3 separate regions of the Homo sapiens genome follow, and all the other regions are linked to region 3. Evidence: promoter capture Hi-C in 16 types of primary human blood cells and fetal thymus (Javierre and others, 2016). All regions are on one chromosome and are shown on one strand. The core of a region is centred on a gene start or on the middle of the fragment in contact, and the rest is flanking DNA. Distances in the headings are between cores, read along the strand shown.

Region 1 (4,027 bases), core at 113-2,612, 960 kb after region 3:
CATTCAGTAAGCACTACCACCATTATCAAAAAAGCAGTTATTGATCGTTTCATTAATTAAGCCCATGTGATAGGGAGCCATCTCATGCTACAGCCATGGTGTCTCCACTGCTTTACTTCATCTCATTTTAAATTGTTACATATGACCTAGCTGTATGTTTATTGGCAACCTTTAGTGCTTATATAGATTATTTTTATAGTTCTAATTTGATCATACCAAGTCATTGATTGAACTGTTATTAAATTTTTATTATGCATAAAGTCTTTCCCAAATCTTAAGGAGAAACAAATAGGAACTTCCTTCTTCTCTTTTCTTTTCTTTCTTTCTTTTTCTTTCTTTCTTTCTTTCTTTCTTTTTCTTTCTTTCTTTCTCTTTCTTTCTTTCTTTCTTTCTTTCTTTCTTTCTTTCTTTCTTTCTTTCTTTCTTTCTTTCTTTCTTTTGTCTTTCTTTCTTTCTCTCTCTCTCTTTCTTTCTCTTTGTTTGTTTGTTTTGTTTTGAGACAGGATCTCACTCTATCACCCAGGCTGGAATGCAGTAGAACGACCATAGCTCACTGCAACCTCGACCTTCTAGGCTCAAGTGATCCTTCTGTATCAGCCTCTTGAGAAGCTTGGACTTACAGGCATGCACTACCATGTCTGGCTGAATTTTTAAACTCTTTGTAGAGACAGGGTACCACTATGTTGCCCGGGCGCGATCCTCCCGCCTTGGCCTTCCAAAGTGTTGAGACTACAGCTGTGAGCCACCACACCTGGCTGAAAACTAGCATTTAACCAGTAACTAGTAACTCTGTGCGAGCTATTGGAGGCAAAGTAGGAAGAAGAGGGGCTATAACATGAAGCAGCTCCCAAGTTCCACCATTTTTAGTTGTGCGATGTTGGTCAAGTCTGAAATTTCCTCCTCTGCATCTAACTCAGATGTTAGCTGGGTGACCACCTTCTTTGAGATATCAATTCAATGAACACTCATTCCTCTCCTCTGTGGTTTCAGAAGGACTTACCTTCTCATCGTCGTTCTGGCTCTGGGTTCCTCATTCTGAGACTTCCCCCTCTCGTCTCTCTCAATCTCACCTGCATCTCATTTCCTAGGGATACTTTTCCCCCTTTTGCATCACACTGGTCCTAATGTTGGATGCTGACCTTTTTATTTTTCCCCCAGATCTTTTAAATACAGCATTTGTATGTATAGCAGATCACAGTGAAGATGTATGCGAGAATGGAAAAATTTTGCATCACATTTGAGTTCCTTAGCCATCACCATCCTGTAGGGAAATTTTTACTATTGATGCTATTGTTACTTTTCTCCACTGTTTACAACTTTCCCTTATTTCTGTTTCTCTTCTCTTCCTTGCTTCGTCTTCCCTCTTCTCTCTCACCCGTACATGTCTACTCATTTCTTATGCAGAGCAGTTCGGATCTTTTTTCTTATTGACTTCTTTCCATCTCATCCTCCACAACCAAAGCACCAAGGCACTTGGGTTTTGTTCTACAGAAAGGTCGTTCCCTCCTGAAAATGAGGCTGACGGAGACTCATTCCCCAGTCTCTCCAGCGCAAGCCCTGGTGCTTTCCACTTCACCCAGCTGGTCTGACAGTGGCTGATCCTAGATCAGAAAGCACTTGGTAAAATGGGAAAGAAGATAAGAAGGTATCATTATCATCATCGCTCTAGGTTGAATTACTAAAGTCGTGATTTATCTTTCCTTCTTTTATTTATGATATCTTTCCTTCTCTTTCACCTCCCCATCCAATGACCACCAGAAATCTCTGTCCATTTCCCAGCAGCCAGAGCCGAAGTGTGCAGCGGCACCGGGGAAAGGTTCCGAATCTTCCGTGCCGAGAAGACCTATGCAGTGAAGGCCGGACGGTGGTATTTTGAATTTGAGACGGTCACTGCTGGAGACATGAGGGTTGGTTGGAGTCGTCCTGGTTGTCAACCGGATCAGGAGCTTGGCTCAGATGAACGTGCCTTTGCCTTTGATGGCTTCAAGGTGAGTGGACTTTGTCCTGTGCCAGTCATCTGTACGTGCTGGAGGCTCATCTCCTCTGCTGTTCCTCTTGGTAGCTTCACAGTACCAGTGTTTCCCACAGCACAAACGTGGAAAAATATTTCACAGGAAAGCTTTTGTCCTCGTAGTCTCAAAACCCTTCCCTACAACCCATGAATGCAGTGAAATTCACCAAGTAAGACATTGCTTTTCCATGGTTATCAAAAAGATAAATCATCTTTGTCTATCAAAATGTTAAAGATACATATGTAGAGGAAAAATGCATATACATTGACGCAGCGATTCCGTATCAGGAGTTTATCTTTAAGCTATAATTAGTGGTTTGTATGAACATTTAATAGCTACAATGCTTAATGTAGTGTTGTTTATAATCACAAACGGTTTTCATTTTCAACATTATTGGTAATTTCTATTAAGTTGGATGGAAGCTGGTCAGGTGTTTATTTTGTTATTTATATACTAATAAATGTTTAAAGATTCTTTTACATGTGTAAAATATTTTGATCAGTAATATGGGCGAGGTGCCTGTAATCCCAGCACTTTGAGAGGCTGAGATGGAGGGATCACTTGGGGCTAGGAGTGCAAGACCAGCCTGGGCAACAAAGTAAGATCCTGTCTCTACAAAAAAAAAAAAAAAAAAATTAAAATTAGCCAAGCATGGTGGTGTGCACTTGTGGTCCCAGCTACATACGAGGCTGAGGTGAGAGGATTGCTTGAGCTCGGGAGGTCGAGGCTGCAATGAGCCATGATCACACCACTGCACTCCAGCCTGGGCAACAGAGTGAGACCTTGTCTCAAAACAAACAAAAAAATAATAATAACAACAAGGTATATATGCTTATAGCCACAATAGGATAATAATAGTCACTTTTGATTGGTAAAATCATAGATTTTTTTAAAGTCTTCTTTTTTTTTTATTTTTTAAGTGAATTTATTTTCCTTTTCACATGAGGGGGAAAAAGCTACTTTTTAACCAAGAAAAATAAAATTAGAATAAATAAGCAATCATGAAGAGATTTGACGTTTGGATATTTCTTGGAGTGAAATGTCCTGTGTAGGAAAGCATTTCTAGGCTTGAAATTAGGGCAGTTGACCCACTTAGTTTTGAAACATCACATTTCCTGAATCCAGTTTTTTAAAAATTTCAAATAGAAAAATTTAACACTTTTTTGGGGGGTTGGGGGGCGGTCAAAATTAGCAAACTTTAAACTTCAAAAAATAAAATAACAGATAAAAGGCAGCTTTAGGTTTATACCTCCTGAAGATCAGATGTAATGAACCAGAGTGGGAAGTAACCTGAGGAAGTTAAAATAACCTTTACTCCCAGTCAAATGATAGGCAAGAAAGGATACTCCCGATTTGGGAACAGGCATGGGGTGGGTGGGGTAGGAAGGAGAACACCACAGCCAGGTAAGTCGGTTGGGCATTTTATGCCTTTTGATACCTGATGTAAACTTTTTTAAAAAGACAGTGTGTTATATTAAGAAGAATTATGTCATTGCTTTGCATTGGCGACTCTGTCTGGTAACGTACCGATTCACAATGAAGGTGAGGTTTAAGAAAAAGTCAAAAGATTTATCTGAAAAAAAAATTCACATAACTCAGGTGTGCTTATGAATCAACGGAATATACTTGTAGATGCAAAAGTCACGTTTATCAAAACTATGTTTCAAATGTACTTACAATATGAGATTTCACTTTATGTATATATATAAAAAGGTTGGCATCTATATTCAATTTTTGGCTTGTTACTTCAGCAGATATCCTAAGGATATTTTTAGGTTTGATTTGAAGCTTTTTTACTTTTAGTATGTAACTGAAATGCTTCTAGATTTCCATTTTGTTAAAGTATCTGTGCCATCGGTTCTAAGGAATGAAATTTCATTTTGAAATAGATGAAAATTACACTATCATTTTCAATGACAGATGCCCAGCTTGATTCCCTAGCTCATAATTATTTGTATTTGTGGGAGTAGAGAAAAACAAACCGTATTCTGGGAAACATTCATTGTCGCAGAAAA
Region 2 (3,966 bases), core at 330-2,829, 540 kb before region 3:
CCACCCCAGCCTCTGTCACACATCAGAGCTGTCTCTGAAGCTGTAGTCTGTGCCTGGAATGCTCTTACCCTTCTCACGAATTCTCTCCCTTTTTGGTACTCAGGCAGCTTCTGAAACTCCTATTGGTCCATCCATGGGACTTTCCTCAGCAACTACAGGAGGAGAGCAGTTCTCTACTTTGCTGGTTCAGCACAGCCTGAATCCAACCTGGCTGAGGTCAAGGCTCTCCATTTACTGGCTGTATAAGCACGGGCAGGTTTCTAAGCTTCAATATCCTTGTCACTTGTATGGGATGTTCATAGTTAAAATCGAAGGATTGTCGTGAGGATTAGATAAGGTGATTCATTAAATGCTCCTAGCTGGGCACAAAGTAAGTATTCCGTTAATATCAAACCATCGTTGTTACCTAAATGTACAGTTTTCGTGATTCTTATTATGTCAATATTTACTGAGAATCTACCATGAGCCAGATTCTATACTAGAAATTCAAAATGCCAAGACCGTTAAGGCACAGTCCTTTCTTTGAGAAGCTCACAATCTATCAGGGAGACAAACACAACAATAACAGTGCGATGCTTTAAGAAATACACAAACCAACAAGAGATATCGCTTGTTGAATGCTGCTTCTGCTAGATGCTTAATGTAGCATTCAATTTAATACTAATAACTGCACAAGCTAGTAGCCCTATGTAGTGAAAACAAGGTTTGCAATGATTAGATAACTTGCCCAGTTTTACACAGGTAGTGAAAGAGCTAGGATTTGAATCCAGTTTGTCCGACACCAAAGCTATTATTCTTTCTGCCGCGCCATCCTGCCCATCTATGGAAGGAAAGGTTTCTCCCTTTATTTCCACCCACAAGATCTATTTGCTCCATTGTTTATACATAATGCTCACGATCTATCTGTGCATGCTTGTGCTCCTTTATTTCATCAGTATCTCTTGGCCTGAGTAAGTCCAGTATATACGGTAAATTCTCTGTCATTTACTATTTATAGCCCTGCACTCGCCTCACATTGCCCAGTCCTTGTAGGACGTAATATTGATGCTGTGTCTCCTACTAGGACAGTGTGTCCCTGTCACTCCTTTAGAATTAGTAGTTCCAAACACATTCATCATCGAATACTTACTTTTATATTGTGCTCTGGACATTTTCTAAGTGTATATAATAATTCGGTCTTTTTCTCTAGTCATTTCGTATGTTTTTCGGGGATAAGAGCTCATTGGGGGCAAGGCCCATGTGCTTTATTTGTTTTCCTGACTTCGCAGAGCCTAGCCCAATGCTGCATACACATTAATAATGTGCACAGTTCTTAACCATTTAAGAACTCACTGATATGTTTAAGAATCATCTGATATCTGCAGTACCAATGGTACCCATAATTCTGTAATATACCAGCTTTAAAAAAAAATGAAACCTTGCTCTTTTGAGATTTATACTCTTTTCTTGATGGCTGTCATCCTGATGAGGCAGAAACACAAAATTTAAGAAGCAGGTCTCAGGCTGTGTGTCTATAAGAAGCCACGGTAACTTTTCTTTTTTTGTGTGTTTGATTTTTGAGATGGAGTCTCCCTCAGTCACCCAGGCTGGAGTGCGGTGGCGTGATCTCGGCTCACTGCCACCTCCACCTCCCAGTTTCAGGTGATTCTCCTGCCTCAGTCTCCTGAGTAGCTGGGATTACAGGCATGCCACCACGCCCGACTAATTTTTGTATTTCTAGTAGAGATGGGATTTCATCATGTTGGCCAGGCTGGTCTCGAAGTCCTGACCTCAGGTGATCCTCCTGCCTCAGCCTCCCAAAGTGCTGGGATTACAGTTGTGAGCCACCACACCCGGCCCCAAGGTAACTCTTCTCTCTGACGATTCAGACAAAAGTCCAGGCAGCTGAGTGGGAAAATAGCTCAATTGGCTATTGCTCTGAAGGAGGCATTTGTTCTAATCTCACTCTCCTGTGAGGATTGGTAACTGACCATGTATGGCCATGGAGCTTTCTTTTATTTTCCAGATGTCATATAGATGTGAATGTATTAGTGTTCCAATTCCAGGGAATTCGCCTAATTCATGAATTTTTTTTTTAATTTTATTTGAGACGGAGTCTCGCTCTGTTGCCCAGCGTGGAGTGCACTGGCGCGATCTCGGCTCACTGCAAACTCCGCCTCCTGGGTTCACGCCATTCTCCTGCCTCAGCCTACCGAGTAGCTGGGACTACAGGCGCCCGCCACCACGCCCGGCCAATTTTTTTTTTTTTTTTTTTTTTTTTTTTTTGTATTTTTAGTAGAGACGGGGTTTCACCATGTTAGCCAGGATGGTCTTGATATCCTGACCTCGTGATCCGCCCACCTCGGCCTCCCAAAGTGCTGCAATTACAGTCGTGAGCCACCGAGCCCGGCCAATTCATGAGTATTTTAAACAACCCACACTCAATTGTGATCTCAGATAAAAATGACACCCTTGGCCGGGGGCGGTGGCTCAAGCCTGTAATCCCAGCACTTTGGGAGGCCGAGGCGGGCGGATCACGAGGTCATGTGATCGAGATCATCCTGGCTAACACGGTGAAACCCCGCCTCTACTAAAAAAATACAAAAAATTAGCCAGGCGTGGTGGCGGGCGCCTGTAGTCCCAGCTACTCGGGAGGCTGAGGCAGGAGAATGGCATGAACCCGGGAGGCGGAGCTTGCAGTGAGCCTAGATCGCGCCACTGAACTCCAACCTGGGCGACAGAGCGAGACTCTGTCTCAAAAAACAAAACAAAACAAAACAAAACAAAAAAACACTCTGACAAAGGATGAGAGTGAAGCAGGATTTGGTGTTCACTTTATTCTGTTTTCAAAGGCGATTAGGATAAAAAGTACCTTGGGAAAACACAATTATGTCCACCTATGTTTGGGAAGATGCCAAGCTTTTCAGGGTAAAGTTTAATTCCTATAGTTCTACATCCTGTTTTCCCATGAACGTTTTCCTGGTTCATTATCATCAGACCTCCAGCATTCACTGCTGGGGTTCCACTTGCCTTTTGTTGTTATTTTAATTTTTAATCTTGATTTATGTAATTTTCAACCTTACATAAAAATTGCAAAAATAATACAAAACGATTCCATATACCCTTATATTCCCATATCCCATATACTCAGATTTTCCTTAATATTAACATTTTGCCATGTTTGCTTTCTCTCTGTCTTTCTCTCTCTCTGTCTGTCTCTCTCTCCACACACTCACACATGCATGCACACACACACAGACACATCGATACATATATATATACATAAATTTTTATCTGGACCATTGAGGGTAAGTTGCAAACATGATACCTCTTTACCTCTGAATGCTTAAGTATATGCTTCTTTAAAACTAGAACATTCTCTCACCTAGCCATAACACAATTGCCAAAATAAGGAAATTAACATTGATATCATACTATAATCTAATTGACAGCTCTTATTCAGAGTTCACCAGATGTCAATATAATGTCTTTTAATAGCAAAAGAAAATACCAGATTACAAACTGCATTCAGTTGTCATGCACTTTCAGTCTTCTTCAACTTGAAAGAGTTCCTCAGTCATTCCTGATCTTTCATGACCTTAACTTTTTTTTTAGAGATGAGATCTAGCTATGCCGAGGCTGGAGTGCAGTGGCTATTCACAGATGTGATCACAGCATGCTATAGCCTCAAACTCCTGGACTCAAATGATCCTCTCACCATAGCCTCTCTAGTAGCTGGACTACAGGGACAAGCCATTGAGCCTGGCCCTTGACATTTTTTAAGAGGACAGACCAGTTATTTTGTAGGCTGTCCCTCAGTTTGGGTTTGTCTGGTGTTTCCTTCATAATTAGATCAGATTTTGCATAAATTTTGGCAGCAGTAACAGAGAAGTGATATTGTGTCCTTCCTAGTGCAACATATCAGGAGGAACATGTCCATTTGTCCTAATGCTGATAGTGTTTACTTTGATCACCTGGTACATTTAT
Region 3 (4,052 bases), core at 1,057-3,556:
TGAGAAAATAAACTAAGCTTACTGAGACAATTCCCAAAGCAGATAAAAGATCAGACCTTGGAAATAAACTTCAGCTGTATCCTAGCTCTGCCACTTACTAGCTGTGTGACTCAAGAAACTTAATCCCTCTAAGCCTCAGTTTTCTCAACTGTAAAACAAGGATAATACAAATAATCTCACCAGAGGAATGCTGTGAGAATTAAATGAGATAATGCAGATAAAGTGCTTACCAGGGCCTAGTGTATAAATGCTCAAAAACACATTAGCTATCATTGTTTTTCTCAAGCAATGGTATTTCAGAGGATAACATTGCCTGCTTCCCCAACCATCTTGTTATTTTGCCAAGAAAGCAGCTTAGTACTCACTGCCTCAAGTGTGCAGGAACAAGCTGTAATGGCAAAGTAGCATGGGCTCTTCAGAACTAACGAGGTTAGGCTGGGCGAGGTGGCTCACACCTGTAATCCCAGTATTTTGGGAGGCCGAGGCGGGTGGATCACCTGAGGTCAGGGGTTAAAGACCAGCCTGGCTAACACGGTGAAACTCCATCTCTACAAAAACACAAAACTCATCCAGGCATTATGGCAGGTGCCTGTAATCCCAGCTACTTGGGAGGCTGAGGTGGGAGAATCACTTGAACCTGGGAGGCAGAGGTTGCAGTGAGCCAAGATTTCAATATTGCACTCCAGCCTGAGTGCCCAGCAAGACTCTATCTCAAAAAAAAACTAATGAGGTTAGACCATTTACTCAAAATCACCAGTAGTTCTACTTTTCACTATCAACAAAAAAGAATTTAAAGGCAGAAGAGCATGCTTATCTCACACAATGGACATTGTATCAATCTCTTAATATACCTAATTTTTCAGCTTTAATTTGATAAGTTCTCAACTACTTAATTTTTTACAAGACCAAAGTGATTAACCCATAGTTATTTCTGTAATTCTATTAGCTACCTGTGAATCAACCACTCCAGACACTTCTGTGCTGGCTTAAGCAGGAAGTAAGGCGACAAGTGAATAAGGAATAATGAAATGTTTTCATCCAACTGTTTGTTTACTGCTTTGGTCTGAACACTTCGCTCCAAGGTTTTTGCTAGCTGACTGAACAACGGTGCTTCAAACTGCTCAAAGGAAGGATCAATTCCAAGCAACTCTTCCAGGCCAGTACATCCTAAATTTCAAAAAAGGCCAGTTTATTTAACAATTCTTCGTAAGCAAATTCATCCCACCCCTCTTTTACAGTTTTACTTACCCCTAAGAAGTTTCTGAATTCTTTAAGTACATATAATTTATAATACAGTCCCAAACACTGATTTCTAGTTTTCAACTTTTAGAGTAAATCCTATCTCATCTACTAGAACAGAAAGTACTTCGTGGCAGGGAACACTTTTTTTTTTTTTTTTTTGGATATCCCCTACAATAACTAGGCCAGTCCTCTGAGAGGACTTCTCCGTCACCCCAGTCACTGCCTCCATCCCCCTTTTAGCTGTTCTTCTCTTTGACATATTAGTTGACCTCTCTAATTTTGTTTCTTCATCTGTGAAATCCAGATACCTCTACTCATAAACATTTCAAGCACCAAGCACCTGACTGTTATGTTCTCTTTCCCTTAAAAATATACATCAACATGCTAGAAACTGCTAAGGAAGAGGACGGGACAGAAGAGAAAACAAGGGGAAAAAAAAAAAACAGTAACATCCAGAAAACAAACGCTTCCAAGAGCTTTTCTAAGTTAAAAGATGGCTCACCAATGGCGAAGGCGGTGTCCCTGTCGATTGTGGCCGCTTCCTTAGGGTCAAATAACAAAGAAGCAACTTCATCTCTAGATAAGAGGCTGGCATCACTTTGAGGGAGGGCGAGTCGTTGCAGCTGCTGGGCTAAGGACGTCATCTTTCACGCCAGCGGAGTTTTAATGACACGGGCTAAAAAAACGTAAGCACTTTGATAAGTTTCTACGAAATTATAAGGCGCCTCGTAAACAAACAATTCTCTTCTGCACTCAGCACCGTCATGGACACACAACGCGGGTGTCCTGAGATTTGTGGACCCCGGAGATGCAAAGACGATGGCAGCAGCGTTAACAACTAATTACAGTAGCGGCGACCGCGCCAAGGCTTTCCTTCAACCCTGATTCCGCAGATATCCGGAAAACTCTTACCCTCCCTCGATATGCCGCCCCCATCCGCAGCCACATCAAGCGGCTCTGTGCCGCTTACCTGGAACTGGGAATTTGGGTATATCTTGGAAGGCAACAACTCTTCACAGCGCTTCCCACATGGTACCAAGGAGCCCAACCCTCACCCGGAAACCTAAGGCATGCTGTAGAGCAACTTCCTGCTGCAGGCGCTACGGCAAGTGAAGAGGTTCAAGCTTGCCGGGAATGCGACGAGACAGCTCCGCCTCCCGAGACGAAAGCCCGCCCCTCAGCCCGCCGGACTCAGGCTCAAGTCTGAGCTTCGCCTCTGTAGCTCCGGTTTAGCGGTCTGCTCTGCGGCTTGTGTCTGAAGCTTTCGGTCTCTGGATGGGCCTTCTGTGGGCTTTAAGGATCCGTAGCCAGAATCATTCATTCAGTAGTGATCCAGCCTTTACTAGGTGCCAGCAGCACCGCGTAGTGTTGAAAGCTATGGGTTGTGAAGTCACGTGGTTTGGGTTCAAATCCTGGCGCTGGCGCCTGTCGGCCGGGTTAACGCCACCAAATTATTTCATCTCTCCGAGCTTGTTACTCACTCTACAAAGTGGGAAGAGGCCGAGATTGTCGTGAAAGGAGCTTCTGCTCCTAGTGCAAACCGATCTATAAATGCTGGACTCCACCGCCCCAGAGCTTGGGGGAGATCTTGTCACTCCTCTATGTTTCCATTCCCGAGGGGTAAATGGCATATATTTTTTTCTTTCAAAACGAATCATAGTCAGGCGCGGCCTGTAATCCGAGCACTTTGGGAAGCTCAGGCGAGCTGATCACCTGAGGTCAGGAGTTCGGGACCAGCCTGGCCAACATAGCGAAACCCCGTCTCTACTAAAAATAAAAGAATTAGCCGGACGTGGTGGCGGGCGCCTGTAATCCCAGCTACTAGGAAAGCTGAGACAGAAGAATCGCTGGAACCCGGGAGTCGGAGGTTGCAGTGGGCCAAGATTGCACCACTGCACTCCACAGAGCGAGACTGTCTCAATAAATAAATTAATCGAATCCTGTTGAGGTATAATTTACAAACAATGGTTACACCCACGTCAGTGGAAGAGTTTGATGACTTTTAGCAAATGCATGTATAGGTGTAATGACCTCCCCAGTCAAAATGACAGTTTCCATCGCCCCTAAAAATTGTCTCTTGCCTGTTTGCGAAGATTCCCGCAACCACTGGTCTTGGCCTCACTACAGATAGTGTTGCGGAAGAGTATCCTTATGTATGAATATAGCTAATCTGTTTCCAAAACACCGGTATGCGCTAGAACTAGGATGAACTGACGTCTTCCAGACGAAGGAGTGAGATCTGATGCTCTGTCTTTTCTGGATGCATTAATTTCTCTGAAGAGCTCTGCGGGGCCAGGGGGTCAAGTCTTTCTGTAACCGTCTTCCCTGGAGAATGTCAGAAACACAGCTACAAATTTGGAGGCCCTGGTTGTCTATACCTCATGCAGATTCTCTCCCATTTACAAACAGAATCTTTTGTTGTTGGTTTGCTTTAAAAGCATTTAAAACAACCAAATATTTTCTTCAGTTATTAGTATTTCTACTGACTGTTAATAATCTTCTTTTCATGTGGTGTTGAGTGCCTTGCAGAGAATAACATGAAAATTCTAGTAGTACCTATTTCATTCTTACAAACATATCTCTCAAAGGAATTTTTTTTTTCTTTCTAACATGTCACAGGAGTTTTACCTTTACAGAAGCAATCAGCTTTCGGTACTTTAAAAGAAATGAACACCAGGTCTGTTTCATTGATAAGATAATTTGCTTTTTTTGCTTAAAAAATACCCTATATATTTTTTAAAAGCTTTATTTAAGTGAAACTTGAAAAAGTGCTACAAAGATTTGACTCAGTCCTTCCTATGTCAGCTGTG

What was found. The method cuts DNA at HindIII sites, captures the fragments that hold promoters and counts their contacts. A CHiCAGO score of 5 or more calls a contact.
Region 1: a contact is called between a fragment that was not itself captured here and the fragment with the promoter of HEATR1 in region 3, in 3 of 17 cell types (M0 macrophages, M2 macrophages and M1 macrophages). The highest score is 8.6, in M0 macrophages.
Region 2: a contact is called between a fragment that was not itself captured here and the fragment with the promoter of HEATR1 in region 3, in 2 of 17 cell types (total B cells and megakaryocytes). The highest score is 5.8, in total B cells.

Annotation. Positions count from the first base shown.
Region 1 is chr1:237,564,788-237,568,814 of GRCh38, forward strand. It overlaps RYR2 (ryanodine receptor 2), which reads left to right. Exons shown (of 105, transcript NM_001035.3): 28 at 1,780-1,988. Among named protein-coding and RNA genes, the nearest start is that of MIR4428, 96 kb to the left of the region's middle. The HindIII fragment of the contact is 1,510 bases long and covers 608-2,117 here.
Region 2 is chr1:236,067,087-236,071,052 of GRCh38, forward strand. No RefSeq gene overlaps it. Among named protein-coding and RNA genes, the nearest start is that of NID1, 4.0 kb to the left of the region's middle. The HindIII fragment of the contact is 2,633 bases long and covers 264-2,896 here.
Region 3 is chr1:236,602,210-236,606,261 of GRCh38, forward strand. HEATR1 (HEAT repeat containing 1) reads right to left here and starts at 2,307. Exons shown (of 45, transcript NM_018072.6): 1 at 2,213-2,307; 2 at 1,745-1,918; 3 at 951-1,167. The coding sequence starts at 1,886. RefSeq lists an enhancer at 2,248-2,507. The HindIII fragment of the contact is 2,349 bases long and covers 16-2,364 here.